2 separate regions of the Homo sapiens genome follow, and region 1 is linked to region 2. The links are contacts of gene promoters, found by promoter capture Hi-C in human tissues and cell types (Jung and others, 2019). All regions are on one chromosome and are shown on one strand. The core of a region is centred on a gene start or on the middle of the fragment in contact, and the rest is flanking DNA. Distances in the headings are between cores, read along the strand shown. Region 1 holds the start of NARF (nuclear prelamin A recognition factor). Region 2 holds the start of ARL16 (ARF like GTPase 16).

Region 1 (2,956 bases), core at 417-2,916, 770 kb before region 2:
TGCAACCTCTGTCTTCCAGGGTCAAGCAATTCTCCTGCCTCAGCCTCCTGAGTAGCTGGGATTACAGGCGTACACCACCATACCTGGATAATTTTTGTATTTTTAGCAGAGATAAGGTTTCACCATGTTGGCCAGGCTGGTCTCAAACTCCTGACCTCAAGTGATCCGTCCACCTCGGCCTCCCAAAGTGCTGGGATTCCAGGCGTGAGCCACCATGCCCGCGTACTTCAGTCTTCTTTAAAGCAGTGATGTGCACGGTGCTGTGAGCCCCCAAAGAGAAAAACAGCAGCAGTAGTTTACTCTGGGCTGATACAAAACTGAAAAATCTACTTGCCTCTCCATTTTCCTGGGCTGGACTCGGTGCATCGGCTGACACATTCTCTTGGTCATCAGTTTTTGTTTTCTTACTACATTCCTTAAAAAAGCAAAGGAACATTATCAATGAACTTTTACTTCGTCTCCCTTAAGAAAATGTGCACATTCTGACCAATGAAGCTCATGTATTTCTATCCTTTCTTTTAGTTTATTTATTTATTTTTTTAGACGGAGTCTCGCTCTCACCCAGGCTGGAGTGCAGGGGCGCAATCTCGGCTCACTGCAGCCTCCACCTCCCGGGTTCAAGCGATTCTCCTGCCTCGGCCTTCTGAGTAGCTGGGATTACAGGTGTGCGCCACCACACCCAGCTAATTTTATATTTTTAGTAGAGACTGGGTTTCGCCATGTTGGCCACGATGGTCTTGAACTGCTGACCTCAGGTGATCCACCCGCCTCGGCCTCCCCTCCCAAGGTGCTGGGATAACAGGCTTGAGCCACCGTGCCTGGCCTTCTATCCTTCTAACCCTTCTAGTGAAACAGGTACTGAAGGACACACACACATCTCTATTGTTTACAATAATAAAAAAGCAGAAGCAACTGTAGCCTTCACCCCACAGGCGAATTCCCCTGGACACAGGTGTACTTAGAATAGGACGCAGCCACCACCGGGGATGAACGACCCATGGAATGTTAGGAAGCCTCCTGCCACGGCGTCACGCGCAGAAGTGCCAGCCACAGAGCAGCATCCACAGGAGCCCATTCCGGCAATAACAGCTACAAAACCCCCCTGCGTGCGCTGCGCGGTTGTTGCCATGGCCTGGAGACAACCGCGGAAGGCGCCGGTCAGCAGCCGTCACCCGCTTCCGCCCCTGCACCGGCTGCTCGGTGACCCTCAGAGGGGCAGGTTCGAAAACGCCTAAAACCCTCTCGAAACGCTTCTGATCATTCCCGCCACGACCGCTGTTTACTCGGACTGTGGTGCGCGGCACGAGAGGCTCGGTCTCCGTGCGTTTCCGCGCTTCGCGGGCGTGGGAAAGATGGACAAGTTCAGGGAGAACCGCGAAGACCGAACCCGCCCTGCAGAGCGCAGCGGACCCCGCGCCGGCCGCCTCCACGCCGAGCGGGCCCAGGGTGCCGAGGCCGGGGGCGCCTTGAAGAGCCCTGAAGCGAGCGAGCGGCGGGCCCGGACCGCCAACCTCGGCCGCCCAGAGCCCCACAGGACAAGCACCAGGCGCGCGCCTCCCCGGCCCGCGGCGCTCACCTTGCGCGTGCAGTGCTCACACTTCATCTGGAGCGCGGCGGGCGGGAGGCCGGGCGCCTCAGCCTCAGGGAAGCACCGGGAGACTGGGACACCACTGCCCGCCGCCCGCGGCCCTTTGTTGTCCTCCCCCGACGCGGCCTCACCCCCAACGGCCGCGCTCGGCCAATGAGAGCACCGGGAGAGGACAAGCCGCACCCCTGGGCCAATAGGATTCCCCACCCTTACGGCTTTGCCTAGGCCAATGACAGTGTCGGGAAGGGGCGGGCCAGGCCCCAGAGCCAATCGGAGCGCGCGGGGCGGACCGCAGGCTCACTCCACGTACGGCGCCGGGGGGACCGGGTCCTTGCGCCGGTTTCCGCTTCTCGTGGGTCCTGCGGCGGCGGCGGCGGCCAAGCGGCGTTCACCAGGGAGTCGGTGAGCGCGCGGACTGTCCCGAGGCCAAGCTGGGGCCGTTCCAGGGTGCTCGGTCCGGTGGTCACGGGGCCTGGAGGCCCCTGGGCCCGCGGAGGCCGCGGCCGGGCTCTGTCAGCCAGCTCGGCGTTGGACACTCGCCTTACTCGCGGCTCCTAACGGGGCGGGCCGGGGGCACAGCCCTCGTCCGCCGCCATTGCCACTTGACGTCGTGTCACGTAGGCTCGGCGGAGTAGCAGCGCGCATGCGCGGCCTGCCTGTCAGTAACCACGTGATGGACCCGGAAGCCCGAGGGCAGATGCTAAATGATGGCCATTTGACATTTGCGTGTGTTCACTATGGATAGTTTTACCAAGTACATTGATTTGGGCCCTTACAGCTTACAAAGTAAAGATAACACTTACTCCTCCAAGAAATTGATTTCAGCTAAGCAAAACATTGATACAGGGCTATAATGGAAGTGTTGGACTCATAAACGTTTTATGAAATCAGTGTGTGTGTATTACAGAAATCAGAAATGAGAAGTAAGAACATGTCTGGGAGAGTGTGACATAAGAAAAATAACTTGTAGGCGTATTTAACAGACAGCAGCAGTTCTCAGGATTCCCCATGTTAGAGCCTTCCTTCCTGTCCTCTGAGAAATGAAAATGAAATCCAAAGACCCCCAACTGACTACACGAACCCCCTACTGGCTAAGGAGATCCCAGGGTTGCCTTGAAGGCAGTTCTCAGCCATGACAGATGGGAGGTGAGACACCTGTTATTAAGGCCAACCCTTGGCTAACTACCATTAGGTTTTCTTGGCTAAGAGCTTAACGGAAACCAGCGCTTTCGAAAGACTCCACCGCTGATAACAACTCTCTCATTTGCAGTTTCGGCCCAATTGACCAGTATTCCTTACTGATAAGAGACACTGACCATGGAGTGGTTCTGGTGAGATGACATGACCCTCGTGAAGGGGCCTGAAGCT
Region 2 (2,700 bases), core at 201-2,700:
ACCCTATCACCCGTCCCTTGGAGTCCCCGTTCGCCCAGATGCTCCCGGTTTCAATGGGACCTTAGCTTGGGCAAGGGCTAGAGAGGCCTGCAGTGTAGACTCCAGGCCCCTTGCTCCAAGCCAAGTGCTTTGGAAATAAGGGCAGAACGGGGCTCCAAGGAGGACTCGCCAGCATACCTGTCATCATACCACATCACTGCTGTCTCCAACAACTGGCCCCTCTGGGGGGGCAGCTCCAGCTCTGCCCACATCGCCTTTCCCGGATACAGAAACGATCTAACAAGCCAAGCCACGTCCACTTTCTATACTGATTCAGTAGTTAACCTCTGGATTCATCCCTGAAGCACTGAACTACCTGTGTGGCTGAGATACTCAGTCTGCTTGCTGGTTCCCTTGGCAAGGAAGGTGTCTCACTTGAAGTCTCCTTGAAAACCCTACTTGACAAAAAGGCAAGCTTGGGCAGCCCATTCGACCACCCAAGCTCCTACCCCCAAACATTAGACGCATTTTCCACGTGCTGCTGGGCACGTGCACATCAACATTCGTTTCCCTCCCAAAACGCGTCAATTCCAGGAGGCTCAGATAGGATCAGCTTTCACCTCCAAAAACGTGAGAAAACGCCTTCCTAAACCATTAGGCACTTCCCGAAGCCAGTGTGGGAACAAAAGGTGGGTCTGGGACCCGCAGCCCCCAAGAGAGCTCGAAGGTCCCAGAGAGAACACTGCCGGCTCCACCCTTCGAGGCCCAGTGTTTTGGGTCAGAAGCCCAAGTGCGAGCCTAACATCCGACTGAGTCACCCACTTTCATGACTCAGGCCTTGTGGCCCACTCGGCCGGGTGCTCGTCGGTCAAGAGGAAATCGGCCGAATGCCCGGGCCCGCGGAGGAGCGAGGTCGCCGAGCGCCCCTGGCGCCCTGCGCGGACCCTCGCAGAGCCCCATTTGCCAACGCCCGACGGACGCCGACCCCACGGCCGCGCCGAGGGTCCAGGATCGGCGGCTCCGAACCCGGGAGGACAGCGGGCCGGGGAGAGGCGGGCAGGGCGGCCGGTCCGCGCCCCTCGGGCCCTCGGGGCCGCGCTGACTCAGCGCCGGGCGGAGGCTGCGGGCTGACCAAGGCCGAGCCGTCGGGTGGGGACGCGTTACCTAGGAGACGCTCGAAGGTGCCGCTGCCTCGCCCCATGGCGACCTCCAGCCCAAACCCGACGCCGCGGGCGCTCCCCTGCTACGAGCTGGCGCGCCCCCCGACTTCCGCTTCCGCCTTTTCCCTCCAGTGCGCGCACGCGCACGTCACCGCGCCGGCCCTAGAGCCGCGAGGAGGCGGGGTCTTCCGCTCTCCCGCTAACGCTGCGCGCTAATTGGACGCGCCCTTGGAACAATGAGCCCTAAGAACCAATGAGAAGTCCGAAGGTGAGAACTATCCAATGAGAGTGGCCGGTGGGCGGGCCTTGAGCCGCGGCGCCGAGCTACGGGTGCCGGGTGGAGCGAAGCACGGAATGTGTCTCCTGCTGGGGGCCACGGGCGTCGGGAAGACGCTGCTGGTGAAACGGCTGCAGGATATCCTTCCGCGCGGGGACGGGACCGGGGCGCGGGGGGCACCCGGAGTGGGGCGGGGACTCACCCTTTAGCTGCTCGGGTCCTTGACCGCTTCGCACAGGTGAGCTCCCGGGATGGGAAAGGCGACCTGGGGGAGCCGCCCCCGACACGGCCCACGGTAGGTGTCCGCCCCCGCGGGTGGAGTTGCGGGGGGTCAGTTCTGCGCTTGGCGAAGAGCTCCGGGCTCCTCTAAGTGCACGCCGAGGCGCAGCGGGTCAGGTCGTGACTTAAGGCCAGCCTTCGGGAGCGGGGGACGGCCCGAGCTGAGGATAATTGGCGCGGGATGAGGGGGCCTGCCGCCCTCCACGGGCACTTCCTCTCCCCTCGCAACGGCTTCCTGTGGCTGGTCGCCCCCACAGCGAGTCCAGCTACTGATGGGCGTCGGTCCCTGCTCGCCGTTCCTGCGTTAGGGAGAATGGGTCTGCGGGGTTCAGGCCACCGTGTAAGGTGTGGGCACGGTGCTCTTCAGGAGTTCACAACGGGACAGCGGTTGTATTGTTCTTTTTGCATCGTGGTTTTTCCTATAGGTGGGCACCAATCTTACTGACATCGTGGCACAGAGAAAGATCACCATCCGGGAGCTTGGGGGGTGCATGGGCCCCATCTGGTCCAGTTACTATGGAAACTGCCGTTCTCTCCTGGTGGGTTGTAATCCTATATGGGCTTCCTTTAGGGAAGTGTGTCTACATTTCTGTGACGTCCAGTCCCCAACCTTGCTGTGTGTAGAAAGGGGTTTGGGTTATTTAGTGACTATACTACTCATGGAAATAGGTCTTAGCTAGTGTTGCTTCCTGCTGGGCACCCTGTCTGGTTTCTGGTGCTTGCGCTCCCAGGCCCCCGGTAGGAGCTCACAGAGGGCTTGCTGAGGGCAGGGCTGCTGCTCCGCAGAGAACAGACTTGGCCCTCTGTGTCACTCCCCGGTACGTCTGTGTTTATGTTGGACTTATACGTACCTCTGGTTGGTCTCATCTTGATAAGGCCTGTGCCGCGGATACCAGTATGGAGAACTGATGGCCACATGAGGACAGAGACGAGTGACACCAGGTCGTCTTCATAAAACTCGATTCCCTCTGCTTCTGCTTGTTCCCAAAGCTTTGTTTAAAGCTA

Evidence for each region. The method cuts DNA at HindIII sites, captures the fragments that hold promoters and counts their contacts. A contact is called where the count stands out against the background at its distance.
Region 1: the fragment with the promoter of NARF here is called in contact with the fragment with the promoter of ARL16 in region 2 in 1 of the 25 tissues and cell types used here (dorsolateral prefrontal cortex).

What each region holds. Positions count from the first base shown.
Region 1 is chr17:82,457,451-82,460,406 of GRCh38, reverse strand. It overlaps NARF (nuclear prelamin A recognition factor), which reads right to left and starts at 1,666. Exons shown (of 11, transcript NM_012336.4): 1 at 1,577-1,666; 2 at 335-415. The coding sequence starts at 1,603. NARF-AS2 (NARF antisense RNA 2) reads left to right here and starts at 1,888. Exons shown (of 3, transcript NR_184099.1): 1 at 1,888-2,734; 2 at 2,859-2,956. RefSeq lists enhancers at 912-1,744, 2,178-2,327 and a silencer at 1,328-2,147. The HindIII fragment of the contact is 15,922 bases long and covers 1-2,956 here.
Region 2 is chr17:81,682,547-81,685,246 of GRCh38, reverse strand. ARL16 (ARF like GTPase 16) reads left to right here and starts at 1,450. Exons shown (of 5, transcript NM_001040025.3): 1 at 1,450-1,554; 2 at 1,653-1,711; 3 at 2,121-2,234. The coding sequence starts at 1,494. It overlaps HGS (hepatocyte growth factor-regulated tyrosine kinase substrate), which reads right to left and starts at 1,236. Exons shown (of 22, transcript NM_004712.5): 1 at 1,144-1,236. The coding sequence starts at 1,180. RefSeq lists silencers at 1,006-1,105, 1,316-1,375, 1,586-1,665 and enhancers at 1,254-1,548, 1,766-1,985. The HindIII fragment of the contact is 7,981 bases long and covers 1-2,700 here.